Regions from separate parts of the Homo sapiens genome. Here all the other regions are linked to region 1. The links are contacts of gene promoters, found by promoter capture Hi-C in blood cells and fetal thymus (Javierre and others, 2016). All regions are on one chromosome and are shown on one strand. Each heading gives the region's core, a stretch centred on a gene start or on the middle of the fragment in contact. The rest is flanking DNA. Distances are from core to core; before and after follow the strand shown.

Region 1 (2,700 bases), core at 144-2,643:
GCAGGCTTGAGGTGGGACCCAAGAATTTGTATTTCTAACAAGTGACAAGATGATATGGCTGTTGCTGGTCCAGGAACCACATTTTGAGAACCACTGTTCTAAATGACTACCGAGTCCTGCAGGTTTGTCTTCAAATCTTTTAAGTGCTGTTTTCCTTGCCTTCCCTCGCCTGACTGCTCCACGTTTTAGCTACAATGGCTTTATTTCGAACCCCGGATCCCGCTTCCCATCTCAACGCTTTTACAGGAGCTGTCGCCCCTGCCTGGGCTGCTCTTGCCATATCTTTCCTCGCCTAGCATCTGCCATCAATCCGGCCTCAGCGGGAACGGCGCCTGCTTTTCCGAGTTTTGTTTGTTTCTTTGTGTTAAAGGCAGCCGCTAGGCCGCGCTCCACCCCAAGCCCAGTGGCTCAGGAGCATTGCCCGGTTAAGGTCTACACAGTCCTCGCCCTTACAGACAGCGGGGTCTGCGCCTCGTTGTCGGGTTCCCCGCTATAAACCCGACTGCAGTAGGCGTTGGCGGAATGAACGGAAAGTTCTCCCTGGCTCATTTTTCTACCCACGGACAGGGCTGGCTGTTCCCAGGGACGTGTGCCATCGCCGTTTGCTATCGCCCTTCTTGCCATCTCATTCAAGCTCACGGCCGAGAAGTTTTTCTTGAAGTAGGCCCTAAACCCCGCCCGGCCCCAGCGCTCCCCGTCACTCCCCCGCCGCCCGTCGCCTGGGAAGGGCGCGGGCCTCACCTGAGGGCCCAGGGCCGCGAGGCGGAAGCCCAGCCCTGGTCTTGCGCGGCCGAACTCACCTCAGCATGTCGGGCTCGGCGAGGCCCAGGCGCGGGGCTAGGCGCCCGATCAGCTCCGACCCCATGGCGCCGGCACTAAAGCGAACAATTCCCGTGAACGCCGCGGGTCAACGAAACCCGCGCGCAAAGGCTGCACCGGCCAGTGAGAGCCAGGCCCCACCCCCGGCGCATCTGGATTGGTTAGGACAGGACGTTGAGACCGTCCCACAAACCAATCAGGGTCTTCCTTTTGCGCATGCGCATCAATAGCGCAATCGCCAACGCAGATGCGGTGAACGTGGACTTGTCGGCTCCCCCTCCTTCCATTCCTTCTTGACAAACTCATCACACACTGCCTTTCCCTCCTGTTGTCTCCTGCCTGCCGCCGGGCGATCCCCACTGCCCTGCACTGCTCCGCCCACTCTCGCACGCTGTGGTGAGATTGGCTGGCGCTCAGGTCCGTCCATCTAGCGTTAAGTGACAGGGCCAATAAGCACGCGAGACTCGGGTTCCTAGAAGTAGGCCAATCAATGAGCCGCCTGTAGGGCCCGGGGGCGGGGCTAGAGAGGGCGGGGCTTGGAGGGGCCGCAGCGTCACATGACCGCGGGAGGCTACGCGCGGGGCGGGTGCTGCTTGCTGCAGGCTCTGGGGAGTCGCCATGGTGAGTGCTGAGGGGGCAGTGGCACCTGGGTCGACCCTCCTTGTAGCCCCTGCTCTCTCCCACCGCCCCGCACTCCAGCGAGTGGAGAAGGGGCCCCACAGACCGTTCGGGATTAAGACCAGCCCGATTTGGCCTGCGGGATAGGGGACAGCAGGAGGAAGGCCGCGGGCAGGCTGATCCGGGCCGGGGTGGGCGGCGGCTCTTGGCTGCGGCCGTTGCTGAGAGACGGGGCGGCCTCTCTGTGGGGTTGACTTGGCATGTAGGCTTTGGGGTCCATGAAGGCCTGCGGCCTCCTTTAAGTGGAATCGGTCACCTGCCTACCACGAGGGGACCGGTAGTCCTAGGTCTGAGCGTCTGGCCCCCGGGGCGCGTGGAGGCCCTGAGACTCGGAGGTGGCGCCGGGACCCGCCCAGATGTTGCGTTTCTACCTTTGTGCCTAGTTGTGCTCGGCCGTCCCCACGCCCTCCTGGAGGGGTCGCAGTGATTCCTTGGCCTTTCTTGGCCTCATACCCGCCTTCGGCTGCAGTGTTTGTCAGCGAGTTCTGGGGACCTGCTTACATGAATTTCCTGGAAGGACTCAGGCTGTCTTCTAATCCTGACGGTCGCAAAGGAGACTGATTGTTTACTTTAGCATTTGTGCATTGGGCGCACCTTGCCTCTTTTGTCTCGCCATTGATAAAATCCAAGTATTTGACTTGCTGGAAGCAGTACTTCTCCTTAGGGCCCGTCTATGACGGCAGCAAATCGTGGTGTGGCTGTTGGCCGGTAAACTTGAACTTCCTCAAAATGTGAATCTTTGTGTCTGGTTCCCACAAAGGCAAGTTGTCACTTGCATTTTATTAGCGTTTAACATAGCCTGCACTGTGTAAATAAATTTTTTGAGTATATACTGTATGTCCGCTTTAATTACCTTACTCACTCTGTGTAGATAGGCTTCTGTAAATCTGTAAGCCTGGAAACAGATTTCACTTTAAATGTCTTAATGCCAGAAAGGATTAAGTGTTTTACAAATACTATTTTCATATAACGTGTTGCCGTACAAGGTGATTTTGCCTGTTTCTCAGGATTTTTATAATTGGGAATTGATACAAGACCGGCGCAAAATTTAACTTTAGGATTTGTGTGTTTCCAGCGTTTATGGATTGACATTTATATTGTTTTGTAATGGAAAACACTTAATTGAGGATGTATTACACACTCCGATTCTTTGTTGGGTGAACCAGTTGGGAGCAATCAGCCAGACACACAGTCTTGTCCTCA
Region 2 (2,700 bases), core at 112-2,611, 1.7 Mb before region 1:
ACTGAGGATTTACACTTTGTTTTGTGTCTGTACTAGTTTCCTATCGCTGCTTTAACAAATTACTGCAAACTTAGTGGGTTGCCACAACATAGATGTATTATATTACAGTTCCAGAGGTCAGAAGTCTAAAATTAGTCTTATGGGGCTAACATCAAGGTGTCGGCCGGGCTGACCCCATGTGGATACTCCAGGGAAAGAATCTGTTTCCTTGCCTTTTCAGTTTTCTAGAGGCCTCCTGCATTCCATGGCTCATGGCCCCTTTCTGGGTCTCTCTGACCTCTGCTTTTGTTGTTGTTGTTTGTTGAGATAGAGTCTTGCTATGTTGCCCAGACTGGTCTCAAACTCCTGGGCTCAAGTGCTTCTCCTGCCTTGGCCTCCAAAGGGATTACAGGTGTGAGCCACTGAGCCTGGCTCAGACCTCTTGTTATCACGTCTTCTATCTCTTGGCCCATGGGATAGTCCAGGATAATGTCTTCATCTCAAAATCCTTAACTCAATCACATATGCTAAGTCCTTTTTGCCACATAAAGTAATTTATTCACAGGTTCTGGGGATTAGGTTGTAGACTTTTTTTTTTTTTTGAGATGGAGTCTCCCTCTTGTTGCCCAGGCTGGAGTGCAGTGGCACGATCTTGGCTCACTGAAACCTCCACCTCCCAGGTACAAGCAATTCTCCTGTCTCAGCCTCCCGAGTAGCTGGGATTACAGGCATGCACCACCATGCCTGGCTAATTTTGTAGTTTTAGTAGAGATGGGGTTTCTCCATGTTTGTCAGGCTGGTCTCAAACTCTCGACCTCAGGTGATCCACCCGCCTCCGTCTCCCAAAGTGCTGGGATTACAGGCATGAGCCACCGTGCCCAGCCAGGCATTTTTTTTTCTTTTTAAGACCAAGTCTTGCTTTGTCAACCAGTCTGGAGTGCAGTGGTGCAATCTCAGGTCAGCAACCTCTCCACCTCCCAGGTTCAAGCGATTCTCCTGCCTCAGCCTTCCAAGTAGCTGAGACTACAGAAGTGTGCCACCACGCCCAGCTAAATTTTTTTTGTTATTGTTGTATTTTTAGTAGAGACAGGGTTTCTCCTGACCTCAAGTGATCCACCCACCTAGGCCTCCCAAAGTCCTGGGTTTACAGGCGTGAGCCGCCTTGCCCAGCCTTGAGCCTGCTTTCTCATTCAAATATCACATAGACTTTAGACTGGCCGCGGTGGCTCGTGCCTGTAATCCCAGCATTTAGGGAGGCCTAGGTGGGTGGATTGCTTGAGCCTAGGAGTTTGAGACCAGCCTGGGCAATATGGTGAAACCCCGTCTCTACAAAAAATGCAAAAATTACCTGGGTGTGGTGGCTATTTTGAAAGCTGAGGCAGGAGGATCGCTTGAGCCCAGGAGGTCGATGCAGCAGTGAGCTCTGATCGCACCACCGCACTCCAGCCTGGGTGATGGGGCAAGACCCTGTCTCAAAAAAAAAAAAAAAATTCTCCCTTTTCTCTACCCCAACTCCACCTAGTTCCCCTTTCCTAGTACTTTTTGCCAGAAATAACCCCTTTAACCATTGCAGCTTTAATGCGTCTAGCGGTCACCACTGTACCCTAAGTGTTATAACTTTTGTGTGCATGTGTTTTTTGAGATGGAGTTTCGCTCTTTCGCCCAGGCTGGAGTAAAGTGGCACGATCTCGGCTCACTGCAACCTCCGCCCCCTGGATTCAAGCGATTCTCCTGCCTCAGCCTCCCAAGTAGCTGGGATTACAGATGCCTGCCACCACCACACCTGGCTAATTTTTGTATTTTTAGTAGAGATGGGGTTTCGCCATGTTGGCCAGGCTGGTCTCGAACTCCTCACCTCAGGTGATCCACCTGCCTCAGCCTCCCAAAGTGCTGGGATTACAGGCATGAGCCACCGCACCTGGCCATTTTTTCATTAACATAGTGAATTGCAGGTAGTTGTTTAGATAATGTAAAATATACTTTAATTCATCCTTCTAAAATTCATTAAAATGAAAACCCTGAATTGACAAATTCTCATAAAGGACTTGAGGGCCCTGCAGATTCATGTGTAAGCCCTCCTGGATGAATATGAATCACAGATCATGTTTCTCCTCAGCTGTAAGACACGATGAATGAGGAAGGAGCAAAGGCTCTGGGGCCAGACGGACCTGGATGTTAACTTCCACACCTCCACTTATTAGTACATGCCATGGGAAAGTTCTTTATCCTTTCTGAGTTTCCATTTCCTCATCTGTAAAATGGGAAAGCAGTGCTCACTTCATATATTTGTTAGTATTAAATTAAGTAACCCGCCTGGCACGGTGGTTCACACCTGTAATCCCAGCACTTTGGGAGGCAGAGGCGGGCAGATCACGAGGTCAAGAGATCGAGACCATCCTGGCTAACACAGTGAAACCCCATCTCTACTAAAAATACAAAAAATTAGCCAGGCGTGGTGGCGGGCGCCTGTAGTCCCAGCTCCTCGGGAGACTGAGGCAGGAGAATGGCGTGAACCCGGGAGGCGGAGCTTGCAGTGAGCCGAGATCACGCCACTGCACTCCAGCCTAGGTGACAGAGCGAGACTCCGTCTCAAAAAAAAAAAAAATTAAGTAACCCATGAACTTGTGCGTGTGTTAAGCATTTCTTGAATGCTAAATGTTTCTAAATGCTAGTTTCTCCAAGATAATTTGGAAAGAAAGTCAAATATCTACTAACAATGAA
Region 3 (2,700 bases), core at 124-2,623, 1.9 Mb before region 1:
GGAATTGTCTTCTTTTTTTTTTTTTTGGTCTCTTTTAACACTGATGTATTCCAAGCACCCAGAAAGAACCCATGATAGACATTAATAAGTATCCTGAATGAATAATACACCTCAGCCATTCCATGCCATTTGAAACCCAGACATTCTTAAGGTTCAGCGTTACTCCCACTTTCCATAAAAACCAAGTCCTATAGGCTGCCTCTGCATATCACCTCTCTGATCAATTTTATCCTCTCTATGTCCCCAAACATTGCCTGCATTTGAGGCTCTGTCATCTCCCTCTAGCTATGACATCAGCATCCTATCTTTCCTTTCTTTTTTTTTTTTTTTTTTTTGAGATGGAGTTTCACTCTTGTTGCACAGGCTGGAATGCAGTGGTGCCATCTCGGCTCACTGCAACCTCCGCCTCCCAGGTTCAAGTAATTCTCCTGCCTCAGCCTCCTGAATAGCTGGGATTACAGGCACACACCACCACGCCCAGCTAATTTTTGTATTTTTAGTAGAGACGGGATCTCACCATGTTGGCCAGGCTGTTCTTGAACTTCTGACCTCAAGCGATCCACCTGCCTCAGCCTCTCAAAGTGCTGTCTCTCTGTTCTCAATCCTTTCCCCTCCAACCCACCCTACAGAGAGAGGACCTCACAGTGTTAATGTCCTGCTTAAAACCTTTCTATGGCAGGCGGGCATGGTGGCTTACACCTGTAGTACCCCGGGAGACTGAGGCAGGAGGATGGCTCAAGCCCAGGAGTTTGAGTTCAGCCTGGGCAACATAGTGAGACCCTGTCTCAGAGAAAACAAATTTATGAGTTTCAAGTCAAGGCTAAATTGGAAAAAATAAAATAAATTTAACCAGCCTCTCTATGGCCCCCATGGCCTTCTCAGGAAATCCAGTCTCCAGTGGTCCTGAAGCCTTAAGTGGTCTGGACCCACTTCCTGCTGTGCCTGCTCATCCTCACACCATCCCCCACAACATTCCTCAGGCCTGCAGAACATCTTACTGCTGGCCACAGAGCTCTCCTGCAGACATTTTCATCTTCTGCTCTTTCTGCTGAAAATGATCTCCCTGCGTCTTTTTTTTTTAAGAGTCTTGCTATGTTGCCTGGGCTGGTCTTGAACACCTGGATTCCAGATATCCTCCCGCCTCTGCCTTCTTGGTAGCTAAGATTACAGGCATGAGCTGTGCTATTCAGGTTCCCCTGCCTCTCATCAGGCTTGTTCCTACCTTCCTTGGGGACGTCCTCCAGGAAGCCTTCCTTAGCTTCACACCAGGCTGGGTGAGCTGCCTCATATCTGTGTTCACATATCAACTTGTGCTGATCTTGGTCGGCTTTTCTGACTCGGCCATGAGATCATGTGAGCCTTGAGGACGGAGTTTTGTCTTATTTTATAATCCCAGTGAGGCTGGGTGCAGTGGTGTGCATCAGTAAACCCAGGTTCTGCAGTGAGCTATGCAGTGAGCTATGATAATATCTGTGAATAGCCACTACACTCTAGGTTGGGCAACAGAGCAAGACCCCATCTTTAGAAAATAAAAACAGGCCAGGCACAGTGGTTCACATCGGTAATCCCAGGACTTTGGGAGGCCAAGGTGGGTGGATCACCTGAGCTCAGGAGTTTGAGACCAGCTTGGCCAGCATGGCAAAACCCCATCTCTACTGAAAATACAAAAATTAGCTTGGCACGGTGGCGCATGCCTGTAACCCCAGCTACTCAGGAGGCTGAGGCTGGAGAATCGCTTGGACCTGGGAGGCGGAGGTTGCAGTGAGCTGAGATCGTGCCACTGCACTCTGGCTTGGGTGACAGAGCAAGACCCCATCTCAGAAAAAAAAAAAAAGTAAATAATAAATAACAAAACAAATTAAATTTATTATTTAAATTTTTTAAATAACAAATGATAATCCCAGTGAGGATACATCATCTAAATAGTAGGCACTTAGTAAATAAGAAGGGAAGGAAAGCAGGAAGAAGGGAAGAGGGAAAGCAGAAAAGAAGAAAGAAAGGTCTCAAATGCTCAGCTCTCTTTCTGGGCACATGGTGGGGCTGCACCTCTCCACCCACTTGAGCTCGTGCACGGCCATGTGATCTGCTTTGGCCCATGAAGTATGAGTGAAAATGACATGTGTCACTTTTAGGCAGAAGCAGACAGGTCAGTCTGTGGTCTCCATCCTCTTTTTACTGCCTGCTGGGTCACAGAAGCACTTGTTGAGATGGAGTCTCTGTCACACAAGGCCCCTGAGTGACTAAGACAAGCAGAGCCCCTGGTGGACCTGCAGTGGACACACAGCATGGGGTGAGAAAGACACTCTGTTCTTTTGAACTGCTGAGAGTTTAGGGTTTATTATTAACCTAGCACAACCACGTCTCTTCTTTTTTTTTTTTTTTTTTGAGATGGAGTTTCACTCTTGTTCCTCAGGCTGGAATGCAGTGGCGTGATCTCAGATCACTACAACCTCCACCTCCCAGGTTCCAGCGATTCTCCTGCCTCAGCCTCCTGAGTAGCTGAGATTACAGGTGCCCACCCAAAGTACTGGGATTATGGGTGTGACCCACCTTGCCCAGCCACGTCTCTTCTTTTCTTTTTTAATTTCAACTTTTGTTTTAGATGCAGAGGATATACATGCAGGTTTGTTACATGGGTATATTGCATGATGCCGAAGTTTAAGGTACGATTGATTCTGTCACAAGCATAGGACCCAATAA
Region 4 (2,700 bases), core at 9-2,508, 1.9 Mb before region 1:
TAAAGCTCTTTGAAAATAAAGAGAACCTACCCAGTAGTCAGAAAGAATCAGAGGTGAAAAGGGAATTCAAACAATTTGTTGAAGCCCATGCAGACAATTACACAATGGATTTGTTGATTTTGCCCACTTCCTTGAAAAAAGAACTTTTGACACTCACACAAGGTGAGGAGAATCTCTTTGAAACAGGAGATGATGAGGTTATTGAAATGAGAGATTCTCAACAAACAGAGTTTACACAGAATGCTGCCACAGGGCTGAATATTTCTAGAGATGAAACTGTTTTGCAGGAAGAGGCAAGAAATAAAGCTGGGACTCCTGTTTCTGAGCTTACAAAACAAATGGACACAGTCCTTTCTAGCTCACCAGATGTGCTTTTTGATCCAATAAATGGTCTAACCCCAGATGAAGAGGCACTTTCCAATGAGAGAATTTGTCAGAAAAGGAGATTTTCTGATTCTGAAGAAAGGCATACGAAGAAGCAGTTTTCTTTGGAAAATGTTCAGGAGGGGGAGATTTTACACGATGCTAAGACATTGGCTGGAAATGTAATAGCTGACCTATCTGATTCTTCTGCTGATTCTGAAAATTTAAGTCCAGATATAAAAGAAACTACTGAGGAAATGGAATACAACATCCTCGTAAACTTTTTTAAAACCATGGGCTACTCCCAAGAAATTGTTGAAAAGGTCATTAAGGTGTATGGACCATCTACTGAACCATTATTGCTCTTAGAGGAAATTGAAAAAGAAAATAAAAGATTCCAAGAAGACAGAGAATTTTCAGCTGGTACAGTGTATCCAGAGACCAACAAAACCAAAAATAAAGGTGTTTATAGCAGCACAAATGAGCTTACAACTGATTCCACTCCAAAGAAAACACAGGCTCACACACAGCAAAATATGGTAGAAAAATTTTCTCAGTTACCATTCAAAGTGGAAGCTAAACCATGTACCTCAAATTGTAGAATTAATACTTTCAGAACAGTGCCAATAGAACAGAAACATGAAGTCTGGGGTTCAAACCAGAACTACATTTGTAACACAGACCCTGAAACTGATGGCCTTTCACCTTCTGTTGCCTCTCCAAGTCCCAAAGAAGTCAATTTTGTTTCAAGGGGAGCTTCAAGTCACCAGCCCAGAGTTCCACTTTTTCCTGAAAATGGTTTACACCAGCAGCCAGAACCCTTGCTTCCAAATAATATGAAATCTGCCTGTGAAAAACGTTTAGGATGTTGTAGTTCTCCTCATTCTAAGCCAAATTGCTCAACCCTTTCTCCACCAATGCCACTGCCCCAGCTGTTACCTTCGGTTACTGATGCAAGGTCGGCAGGACCTTCTGATCATATTGATTCCTCAGTTACTGGGGTTCAAAGGTTTCGAGATACTCTAAAAATACCCTACAAGCTGGAATTAAAAAATGAACCAGGGAGAACGGATTTGAAACACATTGTTATAGATGGGAGCAATGTTGCAATTACGTAAGTCCATTCTCTGCAGATTATTTTATTTTAAATAGGGCTCTAAATGGTGTCTCAGAATCACATGTATATGGGAACTATACATACATGTTGTATATAGTTGATCTGTAGCCTTAGGGTCGGATGGTGGAGGGGAATGGGAACCAACTGGTTGGAAAGGTTTTGTCAGTCCATCTTCTGGATTCATGAACTTTACTTCACCCTGCTGAACTTAATTTCTAAGGGCAAGAGAGGATAGAAAATTATCTTTTCACGTTGCATTGCTCAGTGATATGTAGTATAGTGACTTTTAAGTCATTAAATTCTTAATATTGTGAGTACCATTATGTTCTAATCTAAATAAGAGAACACAGCTTAAAGCAAAAGGATTTTTTTTTATCTTATTATGCTGGAGTATGCCTGATCTCTAGCCAAGAGTGTGCAGTGGTAACAGGTGTGATGTATTTCTGTGGATAGAGCAATGGCAATTTCCTTTCAAAAGTAGTCACTTTGAGCTTCACTGTGGGCCTCTGCTCTTACTAAAAGTTTATAATATTTGTTTTTAGTAAAAGACATCATTTAATGAACCTGTTGTTTCTAGTTAGCCTGTCTTGGAACTCCTCTTAGTTGAAAATCCTCTGATTTGAAACCTGTACGCTTGGGTTTTTTTTCTAAGGGGCAGTTTAAGATCGTGGCTAAGGAGAGTGTGAGGGTCAAGAGCCTCCCTGCACTGTGGACCAGCTGTTTGATTTGGGGCAGGTCACTTAACTGTTCGGAGTTTCAGTTGCTGCAATCTGTTGCCTTCTGACCTGTCCTTAAGGACATCTTTACCATATCATTTCAACAACTATGTAAAGTCTGCCTTCAGTTTTCAAAACCAGTCACCCCATTGTTAAAAGAAAAACTTAGGGCAAATTACATTTAGCAGAGTTGATCTGCACGAACAATGATTTACGAATCTGGCAGCACCCTGAACCAGGAGAGGTTCAGAGAGCTTCACCCAGCAATGAGGGCTGGCAGTATTTATAGGCAGAAAAGGGAATTGCCCTGCAGAAACAGCTTGATTACCTACGGGTTGGCATTTGCCTTATCCAGGCATCCTGTGATGAGGCATTTGCCTTATGTAGAAGTGGTCTGAACAATTGGCAGCCTGTGATTGGCTGAAGCTTGGCTGCTGTGATTGGCTGAGACTCAGCCATTTTTTTTTACAAGAATACTCTTAGGTTGCCATTTGTTCACATACT
Region 5 (2,700 bases), core at 153-2,652, 1.9 Mb before region 1:
AAGGGAATATTTGGCTGCAAATAATATTTTATTTTATATATCACTAGCCATGATTTTTTGCCATTACTTATTATACAAATGCCACCTAGTGCCATTATCCAATTGGCATAACCATTTTACATCCACAATTCACTTCTATAGTTATAAGTAGAATTTTCGTGATTTACATATCTATCAGTGAAGATTTAACACTGAGATGCAATCTAACATCTGTAATATCTGATGTTTTGTAGATGGCAGTGTAGGAAAGATATATTTTAATCACTTTTCATTTAAGTGACCTTATGTAAAAAATAATTTAGCAGTTCCAAGTCTCCAAAGGGCATTTTCAAATGTACATAAAAGAAATGGTTACAGAGATTTTTAAGAAGCATCTTCCATGTCCACATTCTCTTGTAACTGCTGTACTGTTTTCTCTTCCAACTGCTTCCCTTTGCCTGCAAGAGGAACTCAGATAAGATGGATGTTTTGCTTGACCTGTTTGATATCCTGAACTTTCTGTAGCTCTTATTTTTCTTCAATCTGTTCATTATAAATTTAGCTTGGCGTTTCTGTTTGATCTCTTCAACTGTCTTCATTGCTTCAGTAGTTTTATTCCATAGCTCTCACTGGTATTTGATGGTTTCATTTCTATGTTTTTCATATTCAAATGAATTATCCAGTGTAAGCTCTTTGCCACCTGCTTTCCGGAATGCTTTGGTCCACCTAACTTTGCAAGGATTGTGCTTCTTTTTAAAGTTTTTATGACATTTAGATTTACAAAATCTGAACACCTTTCAGTCGTTGCGGATGAACATCATGCCGTGGCCAGGGTAGATGGGCCCAAACAGAAATAACACTTCACAGTACACATGTTAAACCTGCATGGGTCACCACCAACCAAATGCCAAGCTTGAGAAGAATCAGCATATTTAATTCACAGTATGTTTCATTCTTGACCCTGGTATTTTTTAAATTAAGAAAATGAAATTGTTACTTTGTTATAATAGGTAGGTTAATGAAGGTTGATGTATCTCTATTAGGTAATGAATTTGCCTGCAATAATAGAAACCTATACAAAATAAGGGTTTTCTTTCATTTAAAAAGTCAAAAGATAAGCAGCAGTCCAAGGGTGAGTAATGATTACAAACTGTACCCTTATGGTCACAAAATGACCACTGCAGCTCCAGCCATCAGGCCTTTAAGAAGGAAGGATGGAAGAAGAGGTAACAGTTTTCCAGAAAACCCTAGCAGGTTTCTGCTTACCTCTAATTGGCTAGAACTATATCATGTGACCACTAGTAGTAAAGCAAGCTATGAAATGTTCAGTTTTACCTAGGCACATCGCTACCCTAAACAAAATATGGATTACATTATTTTCCATGTGTTTTAAAAATTATAATTCCTAAAAAGTGAGCATATAGCAAGCATTCATTTAACTCATTTGTGAGGGAACCAGCTGGATTGGAAAACTGGTTCAAGGAGCATTGGAGGAAATGAGTACAGGTGCTGAAAAAACAGTGTTAGAATAAGATTGCTAGATTTGGGTACAAAACTGGTGAATGTCCTTGTGAGAATGTAGGAATAACTGACACAGTTTCTCCTGCTTATGTGGACTCTAACATGCTTCTAACACAAGATGTGTGGGAGTTTTCCTCTTACCCTCTATTTTGCCAGAATTTGTGAAAGAACAACCATGCCCCCATTAGCTCCTTAGGAATTCTGACATAGGGTTTAAAAACAGTTGCAGTTAACTTGCTTAGGAATCATCCCTGCTTAGTGCAACTGTAGTTGCAGCCCTGGTCCTGTGACCACTGTATCAGATGGGGATGAGGGGCGGGGGCAGTGGGAATCGAGGTGTTACTGGAAAGAAAGAAAAAATTATAGTTATTATACCAGTATACGACTCAGATATACCAGTTCTCCAAGCTTGTACCCTAATTCCATCAACCTTACTTTCCTAACTTTAGCCTCTGTTAGGACTTTATGAACCGGTTTTGGTTTTACAGTACTAGGTAGGGGAAGTGTTTCCCTACCAGACATAACATCCATTTCCATAAAACATTCAAGTAAAGGAGATACAACTTTTTAACTTAAAGTGTGTTTATTACCATTCCAGTTTATATAATCCTGTCAACCCTTACCTTTTCATATTCTCCCAATCTAGTAGCCCTAGTCGGGGCTTTCTTTGCCAATGGATCATAGGACTCCTATATCAAGGAGTTTCAGGGATTTATCTTCACCACCCCAGAAGGTTTTACCCACTTGTGTACAGAGGCTCTGAGTCCCCAGCCAGAGGGTAAGCAAAGGGACACTTGTGCTTTATCAATTTTGCCTTGATTAATCTCCCTAGGCAATTTCAGGTCAGATTTCTCATTGTAATCTTTGCCTTCTGACTTTAAATTTCTCCAATGTGGGGCAAATTGAGGGACCAAGAGGGGATCCCTTAGACATACCTTATTTTTCAGTGGTGTTGTATTAAAATCTTTTAGTCTCATTAATTTCATTTTATTCATGCCGTATCTTAATAACCACCCTGCTGAGAGGAGTCCTGTGACTCTCCACCTTCTTTTCCTTTTTTGTATCACCCCTATCAATGATTTTTTTACTCACCTTATTAATGATCCCTTAAAAATTTTCCTGGAAGGAGTCCTTTGACTCTCCTCCCTGCCTTTTGCCATTATTTTGTTAATTAATGTTTTTATTAGTGTCTGTAAGACC
Region 6 (2,700 bases), core at 65-2,564, 1.7 Mb before region 1:
TATCTGCAAAGGGTTGAGAATGAAAATGGCATTAGGCTTTTCTTTCACTTACATCATTGAATAGCAGAAGACAGTGGGCATAGCTTACTTAGTTCTTAGAGAAGAGAGTTGTGACCAGGATTGTAAGCTGTGGAATTTATGCAAGAGCTTCAGACTTAGACTAAGATGGAGAGTTAATCACTTACGTAATCCTTTCAGAAACTTTCTTTGAAGTATTGTGATCACACCACAAAATTAAGGATTCAGGTGTAGTTAGGTTTGATTAATTGCTTTGACAAAGTTAGGAGCTTAGTACAATCTTTATTGTGCCTAGTGGGAAAGGGAAAGTTTTACTATTGGCATGTTGAAGGGCTTGCATTGTTTTAGGGGGATCTTACACTTTATTTATTCTTTCCCAGACAGGGTCTCACTCTGTTGCACAGACATAGCTCATTGCAGCCTTTACATCCCAGGCTCAGATGAGCCTCCCACCTCAGCCTCCCAAATAGCTGGCTCTACAGCGGATGCCACCACACCCAGCTAATTTTTTTGTATTTTTTTTGTGGAGATGAGGTCTCAGTATATTGCCTAGGCTTGTCTCAAACTCTTGGGCTCAAGTGATCCTCCCACCTCAGCCTCCCAAAGTGCTGGGATTACAGGTATGAGCCACCAAACTCCATGTATATCTAATGTTTAGCTTGGGTGGAAGCCTCAAAATAAAGTGACTTAGCAAGTGTTGTATTTTGCTTTGAACACATTTAAGTCGGGATTTGCCTTTCCTCTTTGTCTTCTGTTGACAGCAGCTTTCCTGGGTTTCCCTCATCTCCAGTAATCAATCTTTCTATACCTATTCAGTGTAACTTCTTCTGTAGCTGCAAAGTTTTCAGAATTATCTTCAGGAAAAATGGAGGTTTTAGGAAAAACATACAATTTTTAAGAAATCATTTTATTGCTTTGCTACAGTTCTGGAAGCTATAGATTGTTTAATTTATTGTCCTTATAACAGTGTTTGATTTTTTAACTTTTGGCATTTTAACTTGTTGAATTTTTAAGAGACTTGCTTTGATTTTGTCATTGTGTAAGAAGCAAGTAAGTCTTCAAATAGAAGCAATGTTTAATTAACATTTTAACGTAAAACATTTTCTACATAATACCTGCCACAATGTCAAATGAGTTTGGAAAATACCCTTTTAACCTAAAGGCATTCTGGGAACAAGAAAAGCCTTAAGTGTTTTGAATGGAGGAGTTTTATTTAATTAAGATTTCTAATGGAAAGAGCAAATTTGTAATCTGATACCTATAATTTTATTTTATATTTTATTGTTTCTAAGAATAATTTTTGTTTTACTAGAGATGGGGTAGTGATAATTGCATCCTACCCTTTCTTTTTTTTTTGAGATGGAATCTTGCTCTGTCGCCCAGGCTGGAGTGCATGCAGTGGCACGATCTTGGCTCACTGCAGCCTCCGCCTCCTGGGTTCAAGTCGATCTTGGCTCACTGCAGCCTCCGCCTCCCAGGTTCAAGTGATTCTTCTGCCTCAGCCTCCCAAGTAGCTGGGATTACAGGCACACGCCACCATGCCCGGCTAATTTTTGTATTTACTTAGTAGAGACAAAGTATCACCATGTTGGCCAGGATGGTCTTGAACTCCTGACCTCAGGTGATCCACCTGCCTTGGCCTCCCAAAGTGCTGTGATTACAGGCGTGAGCCACCACGCCCAGCTGTTTTTTGTTGTTGTTGTTTTTTACTAAATTAAGAATAAACATGTTTTACTTTTTGCTCATTTTGACTGTTTTCACAGTTGTTAATCAGACTAATCTTTATAAAGCAGTTTATTGTCCCCTTTGGAGAAAATACAGCTAAAAATCACCAGTATCCTCATATAGGTAACTGATTCATTGGTCTGATGTTGTAGCCCTCTTGGTTTCTCACCCCGTCCCTCACGTCTGTGTTCTATTTGTAACTTCATTTACAATATATTATGATTTTTTTCCATATCTGACTACATTTCTCCATTTTAAACTTTTATAAGTAATTTATAAAAGGAAACAAAGATTACCACGTGGAATTGAGAATAAAAGTTTATCTTTCTACTGTTAAGTATGCTAAGGTGGTAAAGCAATGGCTGAATGCTCTGAAATTACTAAGACAACATTAAAGGCTGATTCTAAAATGTTTTTGTTTAGATTGACATCTACTTAAACTATATACCAAACTGGGCTTGGGACGTAGGCTTTAGAAAGTGTAGGTAATAGTGCATTCTTGCTAAGTTTTGGATTTTTGCCAGTTTTGGATTCTATGGGCTTGTCTTAAGGTACTTCTGTGAACTTTTCAGCTTTTTGTAAAACTAGTGTAAATATTCTACCTAGTTGAGAATTAAGGTTTATTGTGCTAAAAATTAAATGGTGGTTGATTCTTGGCAGACATGTTTGATCACCTTTGCAAGGTTAAGGCATCTTTTGGAGTGTGTTTCTTGGAATCTACAAATTCTGAGTCTGTGACTAATTGATGACTTGGCAATTAAATCAGGTCTCAGCTGAAAACTTAAATATTCTGGAATATGTACCATCCATGATACACATAAATTACCCATCTCAATCTAGACAAAAGCCAGTTGAGGCTGGAAACAGTCCAGTTTTACAGCTCAACAACTGGTGGAGCCGGGGTCTGAATCCAAGTGTAGATGACTCTAGAATGCTTCCACTTTTCTGACTTAATTA
Region 7 (2,702 bases), core at 167-2,666, 1.6 Mb before region 1:
CCCGTTAGGGCAATGGAATGCATTACCCAAATCTTTGTGGTGATGCTTGGTGTACACAAACCTATTGTGCTGCCAGCTGTATAAATGCACAGCACGTACAATTACATACAGTACATAATACTTCATAGTCATAGTGAGTGACTATGTTATTGGTTTATGTACTTACTATGCTTCATTTAAAAAAAATTTTTTATTCTTATATATATTTTTAGAGGTGGAGTCTCGCTATGTTGCCCAGACTGGTCTTGAACTCATGGGTTCAAGCAATCTTCCTGCCTCAGCCTCCTGAGTAGCTGGGACTACAGGCACACACTATCGTGCCTGGACTATACTATGCTTTTCATCATTATTTTAGAGTGTACTCCCTTCTGTAAAAAAGAAGTTAACTGTAAAACAGCCTCAGGCAGGTCCTTCAGAAGGTAGAAGGCACTGTTATCCATGCATGTTACTGCCTCTGAAGACCTTCCAGTGGGCCAAGATGTGGAAGTGGAAGACAGTGAAACTGAAGATCCTGACCTAGTTCAGGACTGGGCTAATGTGTGTCTGTGTCTTTGCTTTTAACAAAGAAGTTTAAAAAGTAAAACAATTTTTAAAAAAGCTTATATACAGTAAGGATATTAACCCATTTATGCCAGAAGTTGTGAATTTTTTTTTGTGAAAAATCAGACCTTGGCAATGACCTTGAGCAGTAGGATATAAATAACTCCCACAAGCTTAGTGTTCCAATAATGGAGCACTAGGCATAAATGGGGTAAAAATATTTTTTGTATAGCTATACAGTGTATTTGTGTTTTAAGCTGAGTGTTATTATAAAAGATTTGAAAAGTTTTAAAAAGCTGGGTGTGGTGGCACACACCTGTAATCCCAGCTACTTAGGAGGATGAGGTAGAAGGATCACTTGAGCCCAAGAGTTCAAGACCAGCCTGAGCAACACAGCCTGTCTCAAAAAAAGAAAAAGAAGTAAAAAAAAAAAAAGAAAAAAATTAAAAAATACAGGCTAAGTGTACAGTGTTAATAAGTCTATAGTAGTATATACACAGTAATGTCCTAGGCTTTCACATTCACTCCCACTCACTTGCTGACTCACGCAGAGCTACTTCCAGTCCTGCAACTCCATTCATGGTAAGTGCCTTTATACAGAAGTACCAGCTTTTATTTGTTGTTTATTTTTTCTTTATTGTTCATCTGTTGTTTAGATATACAAATACCACTCTGTTATAATTGCCTACAGTATTCAGTATAGTCACATGCTGTAGAAGTTTATAGCCTAGGATTAACAGGCTATACCATATAGCCTAGGTGTGTAGAAAGCTATACCATCTAGGTTTGTGTAAGTACACTCTATGATGTTTCCACAATGACAAAATTTCCCAGGGATGCACTTCTCAGAACATTATCCCCATCATTAAGCAACGCATATGACTATTCAGTAAATGCTAGCTGACTCACTGATTGAATAAACTGGTATAAACAAGGGCCCAAAACATAGGAATCCATCTTTAGTACCAGACAAGAAAGTTTGCACCCCTGTTTTCAGTGGGTTTTATGTATTAATAAATCTCATTTCCTGTATTAGAGATTCAGAAAATATTCCTAGACAATTATTTAGATGAGTAGTTAAAATGCAGAGACCTTTTGTAATATTTTTTTTAAAACCATTAAGTATTGCTTTAATACTCTTGTAACTTGAGTTTGTTTTGATAATGTATAACAATGACAACCAAAGGTCACTGCAGGCCGGGCGCGGTGGCTCACGCCTGTAATCCCAGCACTTCAGGAGGCTGAGACAGGTGGATTTCTTGAGCTCAGGAGTTTGAGAACAGCCTGAGCAACATGGCAAAACCTGTGGTCCCAGCTACTCTAGGGACTGAGGTGGGAGGACAGCTTAAGCCCGTGAGGTGGAGGTTGCAGCAAGTTGAAACCAGGCCACTCCACTCCAGTCCGGGTAACAGAGCCAGACTCTGTTTTAAGGTCAATGCATTTTCCTATATGATTCATTTAACAGAATGATGACTTTATAATTATTTGATAATATTTTATTTTCCTGTCCCCAATTGGAATTCAAATAACAAATGTTTGGCTCCTATTATAGTTAGATTTTTGCCTTCATTGAAGCTTCCTCCCGGTCTGTACAGGCAAACAAGTCTCTCTTAAACCAGGCCAATATTGATGAGGGATAAATCAGTAAATCAGTGTAAATGTCAGACTCAGAAAATAATATTTAGTATATCTTCATGATATTGGCAGTATATACCAACATGATATTTTCACCTCAACGTTAGACCACCGCCTGATTTTAGAAGTTTGGACATAGCATACTGCCTAGTATCCCATCAAATGCAATGGATTTAGCACAGAAAGTGTTACTCTCTAGATCTATTTTTTTTTTTTAATAATCTTGGCTTATTTGTAAAATCCAATTAGCTCTAACAACACTACAAACCCCTGAAGCTTAGTACCAATGAGCCAGTGCCTAAACTCTTGTCTCTGAAACCCATATTCCTCAACAGCAACCTTAGTTCCTTGGAAAATTATAAATTCTTATTTGTCCTGAGCTACTAATACAATCAAAGGAAAGGTAAGAATGAACAAGATGAAACAAGACTTTAAATACTGAAAATGCAAAACCGAATCCAAACTTCTAACCCCTATCTGTGCAACCTGGGTCTTTGATAAGAAATCAGCTCAAGTTTGATGGATAT

Evidence for each region. Contacts are between HindIII fragments. The CHiCAGO score rates a contact against its expected background, and 5 or more counts as called.
Region 2: a contact is called between a fragment that was not itself captured here and the fragment with the promoter of VPS35 in region 1, in 1 of 17 cell types (total CD8 T cells). The highest score is 5.4, in total CD8 T cells.
Region 3: a contact is called between a fragment that was not itself captured here and the fragment with the promoter of VPS35 in region 1, in 4 of 17 cell types (naive CD4 T cells, naive CD8 T cells, activated CD4 T cells and 1 more). The highest score is 6.8, in naive CD4 T cells.
Region 4: a contact is called between a fragment that was not itself captured here and the fragment with the promoter of VPS35 in region 1, in 1 of 17 cell types (neutrophils). The highest score is 5.1, in neutrophils.
Region 5: a fragment that was not itself captured here is called in contact with the fragment with the promoter of VPS35 in region 1 in 1 of 17 cell types (naive CD8 T cells); the score reaches 5.5 in naive CD8 T cells.
Region 6: a fragment that was not itself captured here is called in contact with the fragment with the promoter of VPS35 in region 1 in 1 of 17 cell types (fetal thymus); the score reaches 7.6 in fetal thymus.
Region 7: a fragment that was not itself captured here is called in contact with the fragment with the promoter of VPS35 in region 1 in 5 of 17 cell types (non-activated CD4 T cells, naive CD4 T cells, total CD8 T cells and 2 more); the score reaches 10.0 in non-activated CD4 T cells.

Annotation. Positions count from the first base shown.
Region 1 is chr16:46,687,871-46,690,570 of GRCh38, reverse strand. VPS35 (VPS35 retromer complex component) reads left to right here and starts at 1,393. Exons shown (of 17, transcript NM_018206.6): 1 at 1,393-1,440. The coding sequence starts at 1,438. ORC6 (origin recognition complex subunit 6) reads right to left here and starts at 912. Exons shown (of 7, transcript NM_014321.4): 1 at 801-912. The coding sequence starts at 865. RefSeq lists enhancers at 89-158, 209-288, 526-1,224, 1,225-1,922 and silencers at 629-928, 1,249-1,488, 1,639-1,688. The HindIII fragment of the contact is 9,040 bases long and covers 1-2,700 here.
Region 2 is chr16:48,389,968-48,392,667 of GRCh38, reverse strand. No RefSeq gene overlaps it. Among named protein-coding and RNA genes, the nearest start is that of SIAH1, 5.9 kb to the right of the region's middle. The HindIII fragment of the contact is 5,448 bases long and covers 1-2,700 here.
Region 3 is chr16:48,632,089-48,634,788 of GRCh38, reverse strand. All of the region lies in intron 1 of LOC105371240 (a long non-coding RNA gene), which reads right to left. Among named protein-coding and RNA genes, the nearest start is that of N4BP1, 23 kb to the right of the region's middle. The HindIII fragment of the contact is 5,727 bases long and covers 1-2,700 here.
Region 4 is chr16:48,559,531-48,562,230 of GRCh38, reverse strand. N4BP1 (NEDD4 binding protein 1) reads left to right here. Exons shown (of 7, transcript NM_153029.4): 2 at 1-1,477. Among named protein-coding and RNA genes, the nearest start is that of N4BP1, 49 kb to the left of the region's middle. The HindIII fragment of the contact is 2,732 bases long and covers 1-2,624 here.
Region 5 is chr16:48,598,316-48,601,015 of GRCh38, reverse strand. All of the region lies in intron 1 of N4BP1 (NEDD4 binding protein 1), which reads left to right. It also overlaps the pseudogene LOC105371239. Among named protein-coding and RNA genes, the nearest start is that of N4BP1, 11 kb to the left of the region's middle. The HindIII fragment of the contact is 1,017 bases long and covers 894-1,910 here.
Region 6 is chr16:48,367,417-48,370,116 of GRCh38, reverse strand. All of the region lies in intron 1 of SIAH1 (siah E3 ubiquitin protein ligase 1), which reads left to right. Among named protein-coding and RNA genes, the nearest start is that of SIAH1, 17 kb to the left of the region's middle. The HindIII fragment of the contact is 6,116 bases long and covers 1-2,700 here.
Region 7 is chr16:48,320,218-48,322,919 of GRCh38, reverse strand. The region is part of intron 11 of LONP2 (lon peptidase 2, peroxisomal); the gene reads right to left. Among named protein-coding and RNA genes, the nearest start is that of SIAH1, 64 kb to the left of the region's middle. The HindIII fragment of the contact is 1,402 bases long and covers 716-2,117 here.